Regions from separate parts of the Homo sapiens genome. Here region 2 is linked to region 1. The links are contacts of gene promoters, found by promoter capture Hi-C in blood cells and fetal thymus (Javierre and others, 2016). All regions are on one chromosome and are shown on one strand. Each heading gives the region's core, a stretch centred on a gene start or on the middle of the fragment in contact. The rest is flanking DNA. Distances are from core to core; before and after follow the strand shown.

What was found. The method cuts DNA at HindIII sites, captures the fragments that hold promoters and counts their contacts. A CHiCAGO score of 5 or more calls a contact.
Region 2: a contact is called between a fragment that was not itself captured here and the fragment with the promoter of NIPBL in region 1, in 1 of 17 cell types (total CD8 T cells). The highest score is 6.8, in total CD8 T cells.

The regions. Positions count from the first base shown.
Region 1 is chr5:36,873,378-36,880,338 of GRCh38, reverse strand. It overlaps NIPBL (NIPBL cohesin loading factor), which reads right to left and starts at 3,570. Exons shown (of 47, transcript NM_133433.4): 1 at 3,161-3,570. NIPBL-DT (NIPBL divergent transcript) reads left to right here and starts at 3,645. Exons shown (of 1, transcript NR_046262.1): 1 at 3,645-6,961. RefSeq lists silencers at 2,945-3,064, 3,705-3,814 and an enhancer at 4,225-4,274. The HindIII fragment of the contact is 9,072 bases long and covers 1-6,961 here.
Region 2 is chr5:43,480,821-43,487,781 of GRCh38, reverse strand. C5orf34-AS1 (C5orf34 antisense RNA 1) reads right to left here and starts at 3,863. Exons shown (of 3, transcript XR_007058763.1): 1 at 3,781-3,863. It overlaps TMEM267 (transmembrane protein 267), which reads left to right and starts at 3,917. Exons shown (of 3, transcript NM_022483.5): 1 at 3,917-3,960. It overlaps C5orf34 (chromosome 5 open reading frame 34), which reads left to right. Exons shown (of 13, transcript NM_198566.4): 13 at 671-1,073. The coding sequence ends at 867. RefSeq lists enhancers at 3,588-3,777, 3,043-3,886 and a silencer at 3,832-4,062. The HindIII fragment of the contact is 1,744 bases long and covers 1,774-3,517 here.

The DNA of each region.
Region 1 (6,961 bases), core at 2,321-4,820:
TAATTACTACATCTTATTTTGAGAAAGTAAAAATACCACAATGGGGTATTTCAAACATGTAACACAGATATGTTCAAATATTTCTATGACAGTTTGATGATGGATTGGTACCAAAAAATTAAATATGAAATTAGTTGAAGAAGCCTTAGAAAATACATTTTTCGGCTGCAAGTAAAGAAAATTTTGTATTGGTATAGCTTGCTCATATTTTTGAAATTTAATAATGATTACTATGAAGAACCAAGTTTACTGCCATAGTAAAAACTTTCACTTTACATCCCTAAAAAGAATCTCAAGTAGACTGTTTTTCTTTTTTCAAGTAATGTATAACTTTTCCTTAAAAGCAGAAAATATTATAATGATCTCTAGAACAGGTTCAAAAATGTTCTCAGATAACTTTAGTAAACAAATTGTTGAATAACTTTAAAAAGGAAGCATCCTATATACACTTCTCAAACATTGAAAATTATCTATTTAATGTTCAACTCTGATTTACTTTCATTATTTACTTGAAATCTCTTTTCAAGTAACAAAAGTTATTGACAACTCTTCAGAGTTAAGAGAAACAATAAGCGACATTGTTGAAATTTCCTTTAGGTGTATGAGAAAATATTTCTCCAAATAATATAACTAGGATTATAAGGTTACTGGAACACTTCTGATTTCTCCTTTCACTGAATTTTAATTTTTAATGGAAATAGATGATTAGCCACTAGTGAATATTCCAACCAACAGAGGGGAAGCAGAACACTCTACACTCTTTAGGGAAACAAACTATTCTCTCCAACTAGGTTATCAGAGATTTAAAGTTCAAGTTTAAATTTTACAATTTGAATTTTACACAATGTTTTCTCCTTTAAAAATGACGTATTTAATTGGTTTGGACCAAACAAAACATATTTTTAAATTTAAAGAAATGTTTATGCTATCATAATGAAAGCTATCACACAACCTATATTACTCACAAATTACTAAATATGTAGAATTGGGAAAATAAGTTGGGAAGAACTAATTCACTATAACAATTCCAAAGTCTCAGGAAAAAAAAGAATCAATCACATAAACCCATCTCTAACACACTTATTCAAACATCTGCATAAGACAACCTCTAAAAATAAGTTGCTTCAGTTCGTGAAAATTAAGCAAGCACAACTCCTCTATTATCTTTAGTAAAAATATGTTTATCCCTTGAAATAAAAGTTGTAGAGACAATCACAGGAATATATGAAGGCCTTTTAAACATTTATAATGAAGCCCTTACCACCTCCATCCCCAAAAAAACAAACCCTCTGCTTTCTTAAGATGTGAAGTATTCCTCCCGTCTGCATTCCCTCCCTGGCATGCCCCCCACTCGCACACCCCCCCACCCGCAGTAGGCCTGAGGCCCCGTAGCAAACAGTGTCTAACAGGAGCAGGCAGCACAAAGACAGGAATGGGAGATTAGTGGGAGGGAGGGAGGCCGGGATTGGGGCTCAGCAGGAGCTTCAGGCTTTTTAAAATTCAAACTGCTCCCTGACCAATACAAATCACGGACACGCTACTGACTACTACACGGATTTATAGCATTAAAAACATGCCTAGTACGTGACAGCTATATTAACTTCATTCTTTTAAACATTTATCCGTACGTTTGCAGGAAATGTGAAACAATTTATTGTAATCAGGACGCTAAACTCAAAAATAACCTCCACAAAATAACTTATTCTACAGTGACAATAATTTAATGACACAAAAAATATGAACCAATGTAACAAACACTAGTAAAACAAGGGATTTCGCTGAGCAGTGCTGCTTCATTTTAACCAATGAAAGTTTTCCTTCAGCGAATATGAAACAAAATATCAAAACGTGTAACCCAGGTACACTTTTCTAGCAATTTGCCTGACTGAGGAATTTTAAATTGGTGTTTCCCCCTTATACCAACCTACATTATGAACGCCTCCATAAACAAGCTCGAAACACTTAACTTACTCATGAACTAGAACTTGTCAAGTTAGAACTGATATTTTTCTCCAGCATTTACAGATACATTTAACCTATTAAAATGACACCTCTCTCATTACACAGTCAAACATCATGGCACAAACAGCCAATGACAATCCTGGGACCTCAAGAAGAACTGCCCTGACATAAAAGGATGGCACCTTCTACAATTTTTTAACCTCCCAAGGATTTTAAGTATAACTTAATTTCTTTTTTGGAAAAAGAAAAGAAAAGTGGTTTTACCCGTATCTCAGCACAATTCTCAGAACACTTAAAATTCTTTGTATGCTCCTACACGTTTTGGTCAGGAAGTACCTGAGTGTTTTACGTATAGTCGCTTAAAACTGCCCTTACATAACGCATACAAATAGAAAGTGGCAGAGTAAACCTGTCAAGTACTTTATACTTGTCTTTGAATAAAAAGTCCATGTGCAACAACACACTGTCAAAACAACAAGATAAAAGCTCTTGGGGAGGGGGAGATGTGCAGTGTCTACCACAGTATGTTTTTCTGTATTAAATATTCATGTGGACGATTTAATTCTTTAAAAAAGAAAATGAGTCTTTATGAACTTTCCAACGTCCAAACAAGTTTTAGAAAGAGAAAGAATTACCACTGGATCCGCGTCTGAGTATTTACGTTTGTCTCACTAACTGAAACTACTTCCTCCCTTCATGGGGTCACAGGGGGAAGAAGGGAGGTTGTTTGTTTCACTGGGACGTTCCCCACTCCCGGACCGGGAAAGTTGTAAATATGGGGACGATCAGGGCACATTTGCTGTTAGTTGTATTGTTTCCGCCTCCCCACTAGCTACGGCTCCACTCCCGGGCGAGGCCTGTCACCGACCAGCAGTCGCTCCGCTCAGCCCGGAGCTCTCCTAATCCCCGAGCTCAAGTAGATTCCGCTGGCCCGCGGCCTGCACTCTCCGCCGGGCCTACGCCTCCCCGGCCGCCCAGCAGGAGCCCAGTCCCCGCCACCGGAGCCGGCCGGGAGAGGGTACAAAACCACCGCTACCCAAGGCGGCTGCCACCAGAGAGGAGCGAACTCTAGACTCGCCTGTGGAAGAGACCTGGGGCCGCTAAGGAAACGGCGGGGAGGGGAGCGAGGAGGAGAGACGCTGAGGACCTGGCGCCGGCGCCGCCGCCGCCGCCGCCGAAATAAAGAGCAGGAATTTACCTGGGCGAATCGGCGTCTGAATCCAAGGGGAGGCCGAGGCCGCTGTGGCGAGAGACTATAATCCGGGCCGGGAGGGGGGGTGGCTACGGCTCCTCTTCCGTCTCCTCAGTGCGGGGAACATGTAGAGCCGGGGGGAGACCAGCCGAGAAGACAAATCGTTGCTTCTTCTTCCTCCTCCTCCTCCTTCTCCCACATAGAAACACTCACAAACACCCGACCACGGGCCCGAGCTACCGGGGGGGCATCGCCGCGGGCCCGGGAACCAATTCTCCTGTCGGCGGGGGCGTCCCTCCCTGCGGCTTGGTGGTGTCGGGTGAGTCGGTACCGACGGAGGGAGGGGGGGGAGGGCGGGGGGAAGGAGCCCTGTGTGTGTCTCTCTCTCGTTCCGTCTCTCCCTCTCAGAACAAAATGCCGACCGGAAGTGCAGCTGCAGGAATGACTCCCTCCGCCGGCGCCAAACACTAACAACCACCCCCTCTTCCCCACTCCACTTCCGCCACCGCCGCAGCCGCCGCTGCCGCCACTTGGGCTCGCGTCCTCGGCCGCGCCGCGCGGCACCCGGGCCCAGCAGCCGGGAGGCGGCAGCTCTCCTCTACGCCCGTCCCCTCAGGGCGGCTGTGGATGTTGCCAGTATTGTCGATGCTTCAGAGCGACGTTTGCCCTGCGACACAGGCGGGCCGGCTCTCCTCTGTCTTTATTTTCCTGGAGGCCGACAGGAGCGGGGCCCGAGTTCGGTGGTGGTCGTGAGCGTGGGGGGCACTCAGGCCCGGACGGGCTCTCAGGTCGCCGACGGCGGCGGCTGGAGGCCGCGCTGGCTGTCCCAGGTCGTCGTTAGCTTTAGGGAGCCGATCTCCGGGCGGCCCCACAGAGGACGCCCGCGATTCGATGGCGATGATGCCCGTTTTAAATGGTGTCCCTGCAGCCGGGTGGATGGATGGATCGTACACCTTGCCTTTTGAGAGCCGGGACCTTACGCCCGACTGCGTGTTATTTCTGCGAATAAGAACGCAACCTTTGGAGGTGAAGACGACTGTCGGCTGGATTGAATTGGAATCGTGTTTGTGATGATGCGTTTATTTCTGGAAATACGCGGTCTCCGCTGCTTTTGCTTTTTGTCGGCAGAGGTTTGGGTTCTTCTCTAACGGTCAGGATAAAGGCCTGTAGGCGACGCTGCGCGAGCGAGAAGCTCGCCCGCGGCTGCCCGGGCGCCCCCCTCTAGGTGTGGGTGGAGCCGAGCGCGCGGGGAGAACCGCCGGCCCCGACTCAGCCACCGGTGACTGCGGGCGACCCGCGGGCCTGCGGCCAGCTGATTTCAAACATCGTTTTCCTCTTTAGGTTCGGAAAACTGAGGCGCTGGACAAGGCTGGAATACAATATGTGATTATACGTACAGTACTATGGTTGTTGTAGTTTTTAAATTGTAAAACAAGAAGTAACCATTGTTCCACCGTTCTCTATTAAGTTTGTGTAAATTAAAAAGGGGCTATTTTCGGTAAAAAGTGCAGTAGGTAAGCGGAATTTTACTCAACCGGGACGAAATTCGTGTTATATGAATTGTATTGTGTATTTGTGTGTGTACCAGTGCGCTAAAAGTAAGTAGGAAAACTTGCTTAGATTATTCCTTTTGCCTCAGGCCACTCAGGGGGCCAAGATCCTGTCACTCCTTTTCTCTAGGCCCTGCGAATGGCTTCCCGTCTTGAGGGGAGTGAGCCAAAGCCTTGACTGCGGCAGAAGTCCCCGCGCGCCGTTGAGGGTGGGGGCGGGCCTGCCCTGGCATCCTTGCGAGTAGGACTCTTCCCTGAGCGTCGTCCACAGGGCTTGCTCCTTCACCTTCAGGATTTTGCTCGTGTCACTCGGTGCTTCCGCGGCTACTTTTAAACTGAAAGTTCCCTAGCCCCCTTCTCATTTTATCCTTTGGACAGTCTACATATCCATACTTGTTTATCTTCTTATCTCTCCTTCCCCAGTGCAATGTAAGCTCTAAGAGGACAAGAGGTTGTGTTTTTCTGCACTGGTGTTACGGCCCCCGCCTAGAATGCCACACAGTAGATGCGTAGTATGTGGTTAAGGAATGAATGCGATTATAAGGGCCTTGATGCTCCCCCATTTCTGTCTTTAATATGTACTTATATGCTACAGAGAGCTTTATAAAAGATTTAAAACACGTTTATTACAGAATTCTATAAAAATATATTGCTTCTAAACATTGGAAAGCCCTCCACAACACCAGAAACCCACAAATGAGGGATAAAATTTGTTTTTAGGCTTCTGTAAATGAGCATGCCCGAGGACAGTGCATCAAATGATCATATCCATACTGGGCCGATTATGTTTGCTCTTCTGAGTCTCAAACTGCATTCTTCATCTTGTCGTCCTCTGTCTTTCAAAATACATTAAAAGTGAGAATTTGGTTGGCTCAGAGCAAATCCAGCACTATTGGAAAAGTTCATTCAGCAAGTATTTATTGGGCACAAATGGGTACCAGGCACGCTAATTCAAAAGGTGTGTGTTTCTGAGGCTAGAAGGCCTTACATAAAGGACCACATGTGGCTACTTTGGTTGCTACTCAATTATGCTGTCAAGCAAAGCAAATGCTAGTGAAATTTATTTTTAGTTTTCTTCTGAAGAAAAGGTTCAATGAAAGCTGAGGTCAGGCTTGGTGTGGATATTTTAATTCACCATTTAGTTTGCTGTTTGCTTACACTTAGGTTAGCATTAGATATACTTAATCATGATTTTTGAGTACTATAAAACGTGAGAAATCTTATTTCCTAGTGGCTGGAAAAACAGGCTTTTTAAATTAAAATAAGTAAATATATCAGTAAGCTAGAAGCTATGCAATAAGGCTTTGGCTATGGTATTACAAATTTTCATATTTCATGTATTGAATTTTTGGACAAGAAAAGACAGCCTTGATAGGTATTTTATAACCATTAATACAATTAATCAAACATTGTTTAGTAAATCCAATCGTCTATTCATTATTATTTTTCCCATTAATCTTCAGAACAGCTTTAAGTTAATACAGATGACTCAGAATGTGTTTTTCACTCAGTTTCAAAATACCATTATTTCAATTCGCTAATAGAAGCACAATTATCTTCTTGTCTGCTTTCTTAAATGTTACTGGTAAACTAGTAATTTTGCATGTCCAGGTAACTGCAGCTGCTACAGTCAATCTGCTTTGGAAAGTCTTGGCATTATTGTGTCATTTAATTTAAAATTTTTAAGTTTTTTTAGTTTCTTCCCTTATTGAGGACTTATTAGGCGCTAATTAGCTTTATGCTAGACATCTCATGCATGGCAGTGAATGAAAACAACACTGCCTTTGAGGGTTTTAACTTGTATATAGTTTATACCATTTTTTTTCCAGGTTATAGAATCAAAGAAATTGTTTCAATTCATATCACAGTATTTCTCTATTAAATCAAATGGTATTTTGCTTGCATAAATTTAAGTATCCAAGTTGAGATCTTACATAGAATCTGTTAATCTAATATTAGTGTTTTCTTCATTTCATTGTCTTGGGTTTTTTTTTCTTAATAATTATTTTTCCCAATACCATCCATTTGTTTTGCTCTTACATTTTTAAGTCTTTTATGTTCCAAATCAGGTGACTTACATCCTCCACTTGTCCATTGAGGATAGCCCAGTAAACCTTTATTCTGACTTTAAATTGCCTCCTTGCTTCAAGAACTGAGTTGCATGACTCAGTTTTCTTTGCTAGAAATATCCCTGGATAGTCTCGTATGTATTCTTGATCAATGAATTGCAGAAGATTTGATTAAAAATTTTAAATGG
Region 2 (6,961 bases), core at 1,396-3,895, 6.6 Mb before region 1:
AAATACCTAAGATTGTAATTTAAGATGGATCTTGTCCATAGAAGGTATAGCATGTTAACATTTATACTTTTCTTTGAGTTTAAATTGGGCAAAGAACAGTTAATTAGGGTTAAGGTCTCCTTTGGAGACTTTTTCACTTACATAATTATATAATAAAATTATAACTGTTTAAGACCTCTTTTTTTAAATGAAATATTTCATTCTGTACATTCTCACCCAATTCATCTAAATTTGTTTTCTCTTGTGGTTTTTCTCTAATCTTATTCAAATAAGTTAGTTCTATAGCGAACAGGTTTTTCACTCTAAATCTTTTTAAATTAAAAATAGACACTACACAGATTCCTTATAATCCTGTCATCCTACTCTTTAATTCCCGTGTCATTTCTTCACTTAAAGAAATGTTACTGAAATTTTCATTTCCTCCTTACCACCAAACCTCCACCCAAACACACACATACACACTCTATTCTCTTTCCCCCTCCCTTATACTGTAATTAGTTTCTTCATCTACAAGGAGCAGACTTGATAAGCCTTGCAGTTCCAACTGTATTATGAATCCAAGAGGTCTTCCAGCTGAGAAATATTTTAATATGAAGCCTATGCTTTCTGTATATAAAGATATTTATATAGTGAAAAATGTGGGGAAAACCTCCTTAACTAAGCAACTTAGTGCTACTAGAAAATAGTGGTATCCTAAACCAGATTTCTAACAAGAAAAATGAACAACAGTCTTTTGATCATTATAAACCAGGATCTTCAGAAACCTTGCTAGGAGAAGTTAATGAAAATAGAGTATCAATAGCATTGAAAAAAACCTCTGAAATCCTTCACGATATTGACTGTCTTCTATCAAACTCTAAAAAGTGAAAAATGGAATTATTACAACATATTATTAAAGTTTAAGGATGTTGTTTCAAGTGACTGGTATAAAATTACTAGTAAGCCAAGATATTGTACGTATTACCCCGGCACAATGATTGTGAAAGAACTGACATTTAACTTTGAAGGTATTTTTAACTTGTACATTTTTAAAATATGTATTTATATCTTAATAATAAATATTTCGAAGTTTTGAACGTTTCACATTTAATTCTTATTTCAGATTAACAAGAAAAAAAATTTGTAACATTATAAAGTTGTTGCTGTTTTTATCTTGTGGAGCATTCACTATTAATCTTCAGGTTTTTTCATTTTGTTTGTTTTTACTGTTTGAGATACGGTCTTGCTTTGTCACCCAGGCTGCAATGCAGTGGTGCAATCATAGCTCACTGCAGCCTTGAACTTGTGGGCTCAAGGGATCTTCCCACCTCAGCCTTCTGAGTAGCTGGAACCACAGACATGTACCACCATGCCTGGCTAATTTTTAAAAATTTTTTTTGTAGAGACAGGAATCTCCCTATCTTGCCCAGGCTGGTCTTGAACTCCTGGCTTCAAGCTATCCTCCTGCCTCCGTTTCCCAAAATGCTGGAATTACAGGTGTGAGCCACTGCACCCAGCCTCTTTTTTTTTAATATGCAGAATTGTGCATTTGTTCACTTGCTATTTGGTCCCTTTACTCCAAGTATTTTTCAGTAGAGCTATGAGACAAGAACTACATCTCAAAAACAAAAACGGAGACAAGCAACATTGTAAACTAAAAATCAGGCACTTTGGCAAAGACTGTATCTAAACTGTCTCATGAACCAGATACTTTCTTTTGAACACAGGAAAAGATTTATGCTGCAAAGTGTTTAACAGAAATGAGCTCACCAAAAGTGCTATTTATTATAAGCTTGTCTATTAAGAAAGAACAAAACCAAATATCTATAATGACGTCAAGATTACACCAAACACAACCAGAAATGTTCTAATTTTCTGATTTCTATAAAAGACCTGGCTCTTCAAATAAACGGGAAGCAGTAACAGAGAAAACGAGAAAAATGGGGAGAAGAGTGTAGATCAGGAATGATAATGTCACTAAGTTAAAGGGGCACAATGCCTTTTTTTTTTTTTAGTTCCTCTGACACTGGATTCCTTCACATTTCAATTCTCAAACAAGTACCATTTCCTCAAAAGGGCCTTCCTTACTACCTGACTAAAGTTAGCATCTCCCAAGTCTATTACATCACCCTATTTACTTCCTTTATAGTACTTATTACAATCTGTCTAGCTTGTTTCCTTGTGGCTCACACCCTCCACTAGAACTTGAGCTCCATAGTCATTCTGTAGCACACTGAGAGCACTCTGTTTGTATAAATGAATCAGTAAGCTGGGCACAGTGGCTCACGCCTGTAATCCCAACACTTTGAGAAGCCAAGGAGGGGGGAACACTTGAGCCCAGGACTTTAACACCAGCCTGGGCAACATAGCGAGATGCCCATCTCTACAAAAAACTTAATTACCTGCACGATGGCATGTGCCTGTGGTCCCAGCTACTCCAGAGGCTGAGGCCGGAGAATCCCTTGAGCCCAGGAGGTCAAGGCTGCAGTGAGCTATGATTGCACCACTGCACTCCAGCCTGGGTGACAGAGGGAGACCCTGTCTCAAAAAAAAAAAAAAAAAAAAAAGGAATAAACATCTACAGGCAGTAGACCGACTACAGAGAAAAGAACTACTATTACATTGTTTGGGTTTGCATGAAGCCATCTATGTTGTTCCTCAATAGCTCCATAAAGCCTAGATTATAAGACTTTGTACCACACTGCCAAAAGGGTAATGCCAAATTATTACTGCATTCAGAAGGAGAAAATTTGTCCTTAACATGGCTAAAAGCACTCAAAATTATAAATACATTTGCTGAAAGATACTTTAAATTCTCATTTAAGGTGTGTGGGAGTTAAAAGGTGTTTAATTTTCCCTGTCAGTTGGGTGTTTTACATTGGCTAAGAACCAAGACTGTGACAAGAAATGAGTTCTATGATTGAGAAACTCTAAGATTCTGGGGGTGGCCTAGGAGTTTACTTTGAGATTGAAATTTATTTTCTATGGTCAACTGTATAATTACGATGATACCACCCCTTGCTTTCCATCTGACACTTGGTTTGAGAAACTGTAGGTAGGAAAGGGAAAGAAGAATGTCCCTCCTTGGGCCTCTTCTTTTGGGCCTGTGCTTCCTAGAGTCAAATGTCAAGCTGGTATTTCCTTGGTGCTAAGAGCAACCACCACTCTGAGGCAGAGACGGGATGGGACCTAGCCAAAGTCCCAGTAAACAAACTGTATCTTGTAAGCGCAATTTAATTAGGGTCAAACTATTCTGTATGGACTTGCTTTTTCGACTTCTGAGGATTTAGTAGTCATGATTAAGTGCTGTCACGCTACTGCGATCTACAAACAGTAGCTCCACAACATCCGCCCGCATCGTGGCAAAGAATTATCAAGAAATCCCCAAGGGGGCGGTGAGGAGCCGCCGGTCGGCCAGGTCGCCCGGTCCCTCAGTCTGGTGAAAAGCTCCGTTGCCCACCCTGAGGGCTTCGCGGAAGGAAGTTGGCCGTATCGCTGCACCTTAGAGATGCGACGGCCGAGGCTCCCAGCTCAAGCTTCTGGTAGTAAGGCCTGTGTGCCTGGCATTCGGGGAGGCCACTTTTCTATCCCCAGCTTCCGGGCCACCACTTGGGTGCGTCGTGGGGATGTCGGCAGCTACGTTTGCGGCACAGCTCCGGCTAAACTGAAAAACGAATCCTCAGGTTTGACAAAACTAAACTAAAAAGACACTTTTCTCCTCTCACTCTGACGTCCCAAAAGTTTCCTTTTTAGGGGTCGGGGCCTACGGTGGGCGAGGAGAAACTCGAGGTATCTACCCACCGCACCAAACAACTCATGCGTCGCTTCCTTTCGACTTGGAGCTGGCCAGTATCCCGGCGTCCTCTCGGCCGACGCTGCGGTCTGAGGCCACTCTGGCCGGCAGCCGACGTCTCTATGGCTCCGACCGAGGGGCGGAGCCGCTGCTCGAGCTGCTGCTGGATTGAACTCAGAGAAGCCGGGGTGGGTATGGCTGAGCCGCTGCGTGGGACTGAGGGGAGGGGGCCGGGTGGACGCCGCGGAACTGCGTCCTGAGGTGGGAGACCGGAGGTGGGGGACCACTGAGTCTGATGTCTGGAGGGTCCGGTTGCGGGTCGGAGGGCGTGCTGGAACAGCCGCCACGCGGGAGCCAGGAGCCTCCTGGGTGCGTGTGACCCACGAGCCGGCACCGTCCCGCGGCCCTGGGGTCTGCGAGGAGCCCTGGCGCCGCCCTCCGGCTTCGCGCTTTTTCTAGATCCCTAGAACCCCAGCCCTCCGCCTACGCTCCGCGCCCCTGGCCTTTTTCTGGCCCAGGGTGGGGTTCCGGGAGTCGTGCCGAAGGAGCCCATTGCCGTCCTTAACCGGTTGTAAGAGCCTTTCGTGCCCCGGAGCCTTTGAGGCTTGAATGCTGAGAGTGTGACATGGTCCTTTCCCTGCAGCCTGGCCCATTTTTTTAAATGACATTTGAAAAATTATTGCATCACACCAGACTCAGAAAAGGATGTCTGGGAACTTCTGAGGCTTGAAACATGTTGAAATACAGAATTTTGTTTTATTCGTAATGGGCATAGGAACTAAACATTTTAAGTGCAGACATCTGATGGCTATAAAAAGTTTCAGTGAAAGTAAGCAAGATTTGTGTTTCCTTTGTCAGTTAGTTGCATCAGATTTGGCATCTGCTTTTGATATTTTTCCATTAAAGAAATTAAATATATTAAGTTTACAGCAACTACAGTTCAGTGAAGAAGACTTACTGGTAAAGCATAATAAAGGCGGTTTCTGGAATTTGGACCGTGTTTTGACCTTGGGTTTTTGCATATAATGTGTAAGGTTGGTGGGGAAGAGGGAAAGTTAAAACAGATGACACTTACTTAGAGAATGTATCAGCTCTTATTTGTTTTGACAGAAATAATGTCTAAGAGATTATTAGCAAACAATACATGATAGCGTATAATTAAAGTGACCAGCTAATTATATGTTTGTGGAATTCAGGAAGGAGAAAAGTACTGTTATGTATACTCTGAAGGCCCCAAAGTTAGTGGTATTTGCTATAAGGGGGATGGGGTGTGACAAAGTTTGGCCATTGCAGAAAATGGCTTCTGCGAGTCATAGGGAGGAATTTATAATATGTCAGTTATGTCAGAGAAGCTATCCCAAACAGTATCTTTAGTTCATAGGCTGCGGATTTATTATGTGATTATCTCTTGTATTAGTAAAATGGAATATTTATTAAATACCTTGAGCACACTGGATTTTTAAACATGACAAGTTTAAAAGAGATCACTACTCTTAAGGAACCTTATCAACAAAAGTGAATATGTAAAAGGAGGTTCGGGAGTCCGTTTTATTTGTAGGGGGAGGAATAGGAAGTGGAAAAGGAAATAAAAAGTTTAAGAAGAAAAATGGGTACCCTTAGGTGTATTATTCAGAGACAATAAGTAATACAGGAAGAACACTTAGTAAATTTCTCTTTTTCTAATACTCAGACTCTGAGCCAGATGTTAAATATCTGCACCAAAAGTTGGAGTAGAATAGATGCCAGAAATGTGGGGTTCTGGAACTGCAATTATACCTTCCTTAAAAATAGAAATAGTTCTCTTCTACGTATCTATTGTGTAATAAATTACACCAAAACTTAGAGGCTTAAAACAGTAGACAGTAGGGGCCAGGCGCCGTGGCTCACGCCCGTAATCCCAGCACTTTGGGAGGCCGAGGCGGGCGGATCACGAGATCAGGAGATCGAGACCATCCTGGCTAACACGGGTGAAACCCCGTCTCTGCTAAAAATACAAGAAATTAGCCGGGCGTGGTGGCGGGCGCCTGTAGTCCCAGCTATTCGGGAGGCTGAGGCAGGAGAATGGCGTGAACCCGGGAGGGGGAGCTTGCAGTGAGCCGAGATCATGCCACTGCACTCCAGCCTGGGTGACAGAGCGAGGAACCATCTCACACAAAACACAAACAAACAAAAAACAGTAGACAATAATTTTATTCTTTCTGTGGGGTCAAGACTTAGCTGGCGGTTCTGGCCCAGGGTCTCATGAAGTTGCAGTCAGGATGTCGGCAGTGGCTGCGGACATCTGAAGGGTTGACTGGGGCTGAAGGATCTGCTTCCAAGTTCACTGTGAGCTTTTTCCTTCCTCTTTCATCAGCAAGCTGTTTTGTACTTTCCATTGGTAAAATGCATTCGCATTATACCCATTATATATAATATATGTGTTCCTATTCGTAAACCGTGATACAGTTTTTTGTAAACAGTAAATTTTGCTTGTTGAGGTCGCTTTAAATTTGGATCATCATGTAAATACTTCAAGTAATCTTTTGATTTTTCACTTTGCTCACGACACTTTATTAGCAAACTAATCCTTTTAAAATCTGAACTCATCATGTAAAATGTAGAGTTAGTAGGTTCGGTGTGGTAGTTTCTGCCTGTAGTCCCAGCACTTTGGGAGGCCAAAGTGGAAGGATCACTTGAGGCCAGGAGCTGAAGACCAGCCCGGGCAACACAATGAGACCCCATCTCTACAAAACACTTTAAAAACAAAAATCTAGCCAAGTATAGTTGTGCATTTCTGTAGTCCTAGCTACTCAGGAGGCTGAAGCAGGAGCCCATGAGTTCAAGGTTACAGTGAGCTATGATCGTGCCACTACACTTCAGCTTGGGCAACAGAGATACCTTGTCAAAAAAAAAAAAAAAAAAAAGTAAGCCGGGCGCAGTGGCTCACGCCTGTAATCCTAGCACTTTGGGAGGCCGAGGCGGGCGGATCACGAAGTCAGGAGATCGAGACCATCCTGGCTAACATGGTGAAACCCCGTCTCTAGTAAAAATACAAAAAATTAGCTGAGCGTGGTGGCGGGCACCTGTAGTCCCAGCTACTCGGGAGGCTGAGAGGCAGGAGAGTGGCATGAACCCGGGAGGCAGAGCTTGCAGTGAGCCGAGATCGCGCCACTGCACTCCAGCCTGGTCGACAGAGCAAGACTCCGTCTC